Regions from separate parts of the Homo sapiens genome. Here region 2 is linked to region 1. Evidence: promoter capture Hi-C in human tissues and cell types (Jung and others, 2019). All regions are on one chromosome and are shown on one strand. The core of a region is centred on a gene start or on the middle of the fragment in contact, and the rest is flanking DNA. Distances in the headings are between cores, read along the strand shown.

Region 1 (3,699 bases), core at 983-3,482:
TATACCACACTGTGCTAAATGCTTTGTATGCATTATCTCATATCATACTGACAGCTTTTTGAGGTATGTATTGTTATTTTATCCATTTTGCAGAAAAGGAACTAAAGCTGTGGAAACGTTGAGTAAGTTACCCAATCAGAAAACGAAAGCTCAGATGTGTCTGACTATATCACCATGCCAGACCTTGACCATGCTGGTCCAGGCTGGACCTGGGTTGTATTTTTCATTGCTCTTGTAATTACTTTTTTATTTATTAATTTAATTTAATTAATTTATTTATTTTTAAGACAGAGTTTTGCTCTTGTTGCCCAAGCTGGAATGCAATGGCATGATCTCGGCTCACTGCAACCTCTGCCTCCCAGGTTCAAGCAGTTCTCCTGCCTCAGCCTCATGAGTAGCTGGGATTACAAGTACACGCCACCACGCTCAACTAATTTTTTGTATTTTTGGTAGAAATGGGGTTTCACCATGTTAGCCAGGCTGGTCTTGAACTCCTGACCTCAGGTCATCTGCCCGCCTCGGCCTCCAAAAGTGCTGGGATTACAAGTGTGAGCCACCGCATCCAGCCTGCACTTGTAATTACTTAATGTCCATTTTCCCTACTAGACTGAGGTCATGGAACCTTATTTTCTGTTTGTCACCCTATCCCTAATGTCTAAGCAGCAGACAGTCATTATTTGTTGATTGCTGTCTTCATCAGCCACTCACTGGGTTAACCCTCATTTAACTTCACATCCTTTGAATTATTGTTTACAGCATTGCATGTCAACTAGTGTGTAATGGATAATGTTTCAGGCCATCAGGTATCTTCTAGAAACCCCTTTGTTCATCTACCAAAGGTCAAATAAAAGGTTGGATTCTAGGTCCTCTTCTCCTCCCTAAGCCACACCTACACTTGTCCTAGGTAAAAAATTACACTGAAAGTTTTTTTCCCTTTTATTGTTTTTACTAAAAGATGCTTTCCCGCCACTCCTTCAGTATCACAGGTCAAACGTGGTAAAAAATGTTTTTTAAAAAAATTTGAGACAGGGTCTCACTCTGTCACCCAGGCTGGAGTGCAGTGGGGCGTTTACAGCTCACTGCAGTCTCCACCTCCCAGGCTCAAGCAACCCCCCACCTCAGCCTCCCGGAAAAGATGCTTTTTAAAATTACTCTTGGCAATAACTATGGCAATGTAGCATTGGTTTCTGTTGAGTATAATCTTTTTGTTTGTTTTTTGAGACGGAGTCTAGCTCTGTCGCCCAGGCTGAAGTGCAGTGGCGCCATCTTGGCTCACTGCAACCTCCGCCCCGCGGGGTTCCCGCCATTCTCCTGCCTCAGCCTCCCCAATAGCTGGGACTACAGACGCCCGCCACCACGCCCGGCTAATTTTTTTTTGGTATTTTTAGTAGAGACGGGGTTTCAGTGTGTTAGGATGGTCTCGATCTCCTGACCTCGCGATCCGCCTGCCTTGGACTCCCAAAGTGCTGGGATTACAGGCGTGAGCCAACGGCGAGTATAATCTTTCAAACCACTTTTCTCATTAACAGTAAGTAGGACTTTCTCTTAATAGGTACAAGCTTCTTACTCTTTTAATATATAGCTAAAACGATTGTTTTTTCCCTATTTTTAAAATAGAGGGATCAATGAAATCAGGTTCAGGAAAAAATTATGAGTTATCCTTAGGGCAAAAATGGGGATCAATTTACAAATGGGGCAGTAACTGGGACTATTATAACCTCTAGGTCTGTTTATCATGTGATCATACAACATATTAATTCATGCCCTCCCATCTGCAAAATGGCAATACTAATTTTTTTTTCCTCCCTGCTTTGCAGAGATGAGGTAAAGGGTGGTTGCCAGCAAAATGCAGACACATCCACAAATTAAAGGTACCAGAAAGTAAAACATAGTAAACACTGTTACCTTATTTATATCCCAGAGAACCAGCTTGCTTTTAAGTTTAGCAAATTCATAGGCAGTCAGTCTCCCAATTCCATGCCCAGCTCCTGTAATCAGCACGATTTCGCCGGTGACTGATTTTCTCCTCTTAGGAATAAAAAGCTTCACGAAGGACTCTAGGGAGCAGACGATCAGTAACGGGAGAAGCAGGAGGATGTCCAGAAGAAATTTCATCCCTTTTGTGGCTGCGAGCGTTTGGTGTGTTTTTTTTTTTTTTTACCACTCTAAACTGCTTTTAGAGGGTAGCTCGATCTAACACCAGAAAGAGTAGGGGCGAGAGCAAGGAGGAACTCCCGTATCAAAGAAAAACAACTCCGAAACCGTTCCTTCCGCTGGGCTGGGCTTTGTTGGTCTTTCGCAATTGGCTCGGGCTGCAGTGCTTGCTAGCTCAGAGATCTGGGAGGGACGAAGTCCAGACCGGAGCAAAGCTTCCTAGTTCTGCTTTGCGCAGCCCCCACGCGGTGTGTGGCCGCGATTGTCTTTTACACCACTTTCTCCCGGTGTCGTGAGCCGGCCTTGGAGGGTTAGTTGCTCACTTGTTTTCCTAAATTGGATAAGTTCCAAGGATAACCGACAGTGTCCACAGGCCAGATGCTTCTTTCATAGTTGAAGGTTGCTTATCACTAGATAGGGGGTGCCGCTGGGCGCGGCGGCTCTCGCCTGTGATCCTGGCACTTTGAGAAGCCCTGGCGGGAGGATCGCTTGACCCCAGGAGTTCGAGATCAGCCTGAACAACATAGGGAGACCCCCGGTCTCTTTTTTTTTTTTTTTAATTAGCCAGGCGTAGTGGCGTGTGCCTGTAGTTCCAGCTACTCGAGAGACTGAGGCACGGGAATTGCTTGAGTCCAGGAGGTGGAGGCTACAGTGAGTGAAGATCGCGCCACTGCACTCCAGCCTGGACGAAAAGGCCAGACTTTGTCCTAAAAAACAAAAACTAGATAGAGGATGCAAATGTAGATTCCTATCTTAAAGGATCCTGAAAAGACCAATCGTTCTGCTTCCAGCTGAGAAATTGCGCTACATCACATTTTAGTTTGAACTAAGCACGATTTCTGGAAGACAGGGGAAATTTTGTCTGTTCAAGGACAGCTTCAATCAAGCGCCAGAAAAAATTGTTATCGTATTAAAGGGATTGTTTCCACAAGAAAGAAGAGTATATTTGAATAATCATTTTTCACTTGACCTATTAGAGTTTGAAAATAAAAAATATATGTTGTACTTTAGGAATTTTATCTTTATTCAAGTGAATAAATAGCAAATCATTTAGCCTAAAGATTACCTATGTAACATTTGGTTTTGTAGCCTATATAAATGGGTATTCAGTATATGCTAACTAGTGACTTGAAAAAATTCTAGAGATTGGTTACTGGAAGAAAAGACCTAACTAGGGCTTGTGTCCAGTAAGAGCTTAATAATGGTATTGCATGCATTTTTTTCCAACTCATTTTTGACAGACATTGGATTTGGGTTTTGCGCAAGACACTCCAGTGCTTGGGAAGGGACTTTGTTGTGTGACAATAGTCAACTTTCATATTTAAGAGCCAGAAAGATCACACAAAAAAATCAAAGTTCACAAATAGTTCAAACTCGATTGTCCCTCTTACTTAAGCAGCCATACGTTGTTATAGGGGATGAAGGGATAGTGGCAGCCTCACAAAAGTGAACCCCATTATAGAATTCTTTGAATTCAGAATATCTACAACTTTTTTTTGGATAGCCTCCAAATCCAAATTTACAAAACACTTGTATAGAAAGTTT
Region 2 (3,548 bases), core at 141-2,640, 1.2 Mb after region 1:
GTGTTCGGTTTTCAGGGAGGCTCTTTTGAACGGTGCAGGGATTCCTTCCTGTTTGGAACCCTTGTGTCTAATTCAAGCCTTTTGATGGAAAAGCAGACTTTTCTTTTCTTTTCTTTTTTTTTTTTTTTTGAGATATGGTCTCGCTCCGTCGCCCAGGCTTGAGTGCAGTGGTGAGATCTTGGCTCACTGCAACCTCCACCTCCCAGGTTCAGGCAATTTTCATGCCTCAGCCACCTGACTAGCTGGGATTACAGACATGCGCCACCACAAGACTTTTTATTTTTTATCTTCTTAGAGAACATATGTAATATCAGTTACCTGGGGAGGGGAGGTGACTAGTTAGTTCAGAGTTAGAATAAAATAGATTTTGCCCGTTGTATTAGTCGGTTTTCACACTGCTGATAAGACATACCCAAGACTGGGCAGTTTAGAAAAGAAAGAGGTTTATTGGGTTTACAGTTCCACGTGGCTGGGGAGGCCTCACAATCATGGCAGAAGGTGAAAGGCATGTTTCACATGGCGGCAGACAAGAGAAGAGAGCTTGTGCAGGGAGACTCCCATTTTTAAAACCATCAGATCTCTTAAGACTCATTCACTATTATGAGAACAGCACAGGAAAGACCTGCCCCCATAATTCATTTACCTCCCACTGGATCCCTCCCATAACATGTGGGAATTCAAGATGAGATTTGGGTGGGGACACAGCCAAATCATATCATCCAGTAATTTAATGCTGAGAAATATGACAGTTTTTTGAATAGGTAATCCTCACACAATCACTATCAGAAACTTTACTTCCTGATTACCTATATTCATTCCTTTGTTTCTGCAACATGCTCTTACATGTTTTGTGCTAAGCAATGCGATTGCTGTTATGAGTGGAGGGATGAATGAGATATGGTGATGATGTGGCTGCAGTGATCCTTATGGCAAATGCTGTCATGCAAGTCTGTGTTATGTAAGTTGAAGAGTACACCAGAGGTGTAGGGGAGGGGAGATTGGTTCTGCCTTTGGGTGTTGAGTAGCACTTTGGTGTGTGTGTGTGTGTGTGTGTGTATGCATGTGCACTTGGGTGTATGAATGAATGTGGCAGCATCACTAAGCTTATTGCACACCTGATACCCAGTGATGTGAATATAAAGGTGCAATACTTGTTCAAGGCATGTTGAATAGTGTGGTGAGACTGGGAAGAGAGGGTGATGGAAGAGGATAAGCTGGAAAGGTAGGGGGACTAATTCGTTTCCTTAAATTTCAGTGCTTTTAATTGATTTATAACAGGTGCTACACATATTTTAAGCTTGTTGATTTTATTTTTTTCCACCTATTTTTACATTTTTTTTTGAGACAGGATCTGGCTCTGTCGCCCAGGCTGGAGTGCAGTGGTGCCATCTTGAGTCACCGCAACCTCCGCCTCCCAGGCTGCAGATATCCTCTCAGTCTCAGTCTCCTGAGTAGCTACAACTACAGGCATGTGCCAATACACCTGCTAATTTTTTAATTTTTGTTTTAGTAGAGACGGAGTTTTGCCATGTTGTCCAGGCTGGTCTCAAACTCTTGAGCTCAAGCAATCTGCCTGCCTTGGCCTCCCAAAGTGCTGGCATTACAGGTGCGAACCACTGTTCCTGGCCCTATTTTTACTTTTAAAGAATCTAAGTTTGACTTTCAGTATATGTGTAGCATGGATTTATAAGGTCCTCTTAGTAGTGAGGATGTGTAAATGAATCTTCTTTTGGTGAGAAATTTTAAGGTAGGGTCTTAAATTGTGACCACATATTTGTCACACTAGCATAGGTGTTTGCCCCTTTTTTTGTTACCTGCCATTCTTTTCATTCAATACAGATCATTCCAGACACTGAAGCTTCATTAAAGAATAACCTTACAGTTTTTTCTAGATGATTTTATCATTTTATTTGGCATCAATACGAATTAAATTTTTTCTGTGACACTGTCTCCCTCTTCTCTCACGTTTATTATTCCCTTCCATAGTAAGTGACCATGTTCCGTAGTTTCCCTGCCCAAAATGTCAGTGTAAATTTATAATCGTTAATTTTTATGTTGCCCATTGGAAAGAGGGCTGCAGGGCTTAGGCACAATTGTGAAGGATGTGAAGTGTGGTTGATGAGCTTCCAATTCCTCATTCTTTGCCACCAGGTTCCTTCAGGAAGCCCGCTGTGAGAAATGCACCAGGCCTACTCATCTGGGGGCAGTACCCCATGTTCTAGTCAGGGGTTTCTTAACCTGAGGACCCTGAAATCTTGGGATTTCAAGGAAGGGGTTTGTAGAGTCATCTACAGATGAACACCATTCCATGTACAGTGCACTCAATACTATAGGTTTTCAAATTATTCTGTTGTTTACTAAAATGAAAATTCAGTTGAAAATGCCACTAATTCAGAAATTAGTAAATCCTATTTATTATGTATTTTACCAATTAATAGAATACAAAGGTATCATATACAACTACCATGGAGGTGGCAGGAAGAAGATTGACTTTTTCAAATGGTCTTCATACTGGAACAGATTAAAAACCAAGTCTTCTTTCTTTTCCTCCTGTTAAAACTCACTTGTGTCTCACATTAAGCTCCTAAATGTGCCCTCTGTTTCCCTAGGCCAGAGCCAGTGTCTAACAAGTAATGCATTTGGAGGGTCATGGCCCAACAGTCTACATTCAGCCAGGATTTAGGAACTTCATTCCAATGATCTTTGAAGGACTTGTACAACTCTAGCCAGCCTTTGAAGGGAGTATTTTGGGAACTGGGAAGAGATCTTTCTAGTCCTCCCATGGAGACAGCAAGGTTATGGTGAAGTTTGGAATCAGATAAAACTAATGGAGGCATTACATCTCTAATCTAAAATGAGGATTATAGTCTAGGTGTGGTGGCACACACCTGTAATCCCATCACTTTGGGAGGCCAAGGCCAGAGGATTGCTTGCCAAGGAGTTGGGGACCAGCCTGGGCAACATACAGATGCAAAAAAAAAAAAAAAAAAAAATTAGCTGGGCATGGTGGTGTGTACCTGTTGTTCCTGCTACTTGGGAGGTTGAGGTTGGAAGGTCACTTGAGCCCTGGAGATCAAAACTGTGGTGAGCTGTGATTGCATCATTGCACTCCAGCCTGGGCAACAGAGCAAGACTCTGTCTCAAAACAAAACAAACAACAACAACAAAAAACCCCAAAATAAATAAATAAATAAAAATGGGGATTATAATACTCTTTCATAGGTAGAGTAATCTGTGTAAATATTGAATGCAGTGTCTGGCAGTTTTATATCATGCCTCAGAAATTATGCTACCGTGCAGTTTCACCATCCCGTGTAAAGGCTGATACTGTCTCTGGAGTTACAGGGAAAGAAGCCTAAGCTGGGAGTTTGAGAACTGGGATCTAGTTTTTTATCTACCAGGAAATAATTGCCTGTCCCTGGGCAAGTTTCTTCCTATTTCTGAGTCACAGTTCCCTTTCCTGTAAAAGGAGTAGACTTCCTGTTCTAATCAGATAGTTCTTGGTGAAGGGGATTCACATGATAAAGAAGACACCACAAAACTGCTGG

Evidence for each region. The method cuts DNA at HindIII sites, captures the fragments that hold promoters and counts their contacts. A contact is called where the count stands out against the background at its distance.
Region 2: a fragment that was not itself captured here is called in contact with the fragment with the promoter of HSD17B11 in region 1 in 1 of the 25 tissues and cell types used here (aorta).

The regions. Positions count from the first base shown.
Region 1 is chr4:87,388,956-87,392,654 of GRCh38, forward strand. It overlaps HSD17B11 (hydroxysteroid 17-beta dehydrogenase 11), which reads right to left and starts at 2,233. Exons shown (of 7, transcript NM_016245.5): 1 at 1,906-2,233. The coding sequence starts at 2,115. RefSeq lists enhancers at 2,445-2,514, 2,528-3,100. The HindIII fragment of the contact is 3,840 bases long and covers 2,207-3,699 here.
Region 2 is chr4:88,606,141-88,609,688 of GRCh38, forward strand. The region is part of intron 3 of HERC3 (HECT and RLD domain containing E3 ubiquitin protein ligase 3); the gene reads left to right. Among named protein-coding and RNA genes, the nearest start is that of HERC3, 15 kb to the left of the region's middle. The HindIII fragment of the contact is 4,074 bases long and covers 1-3,427 here.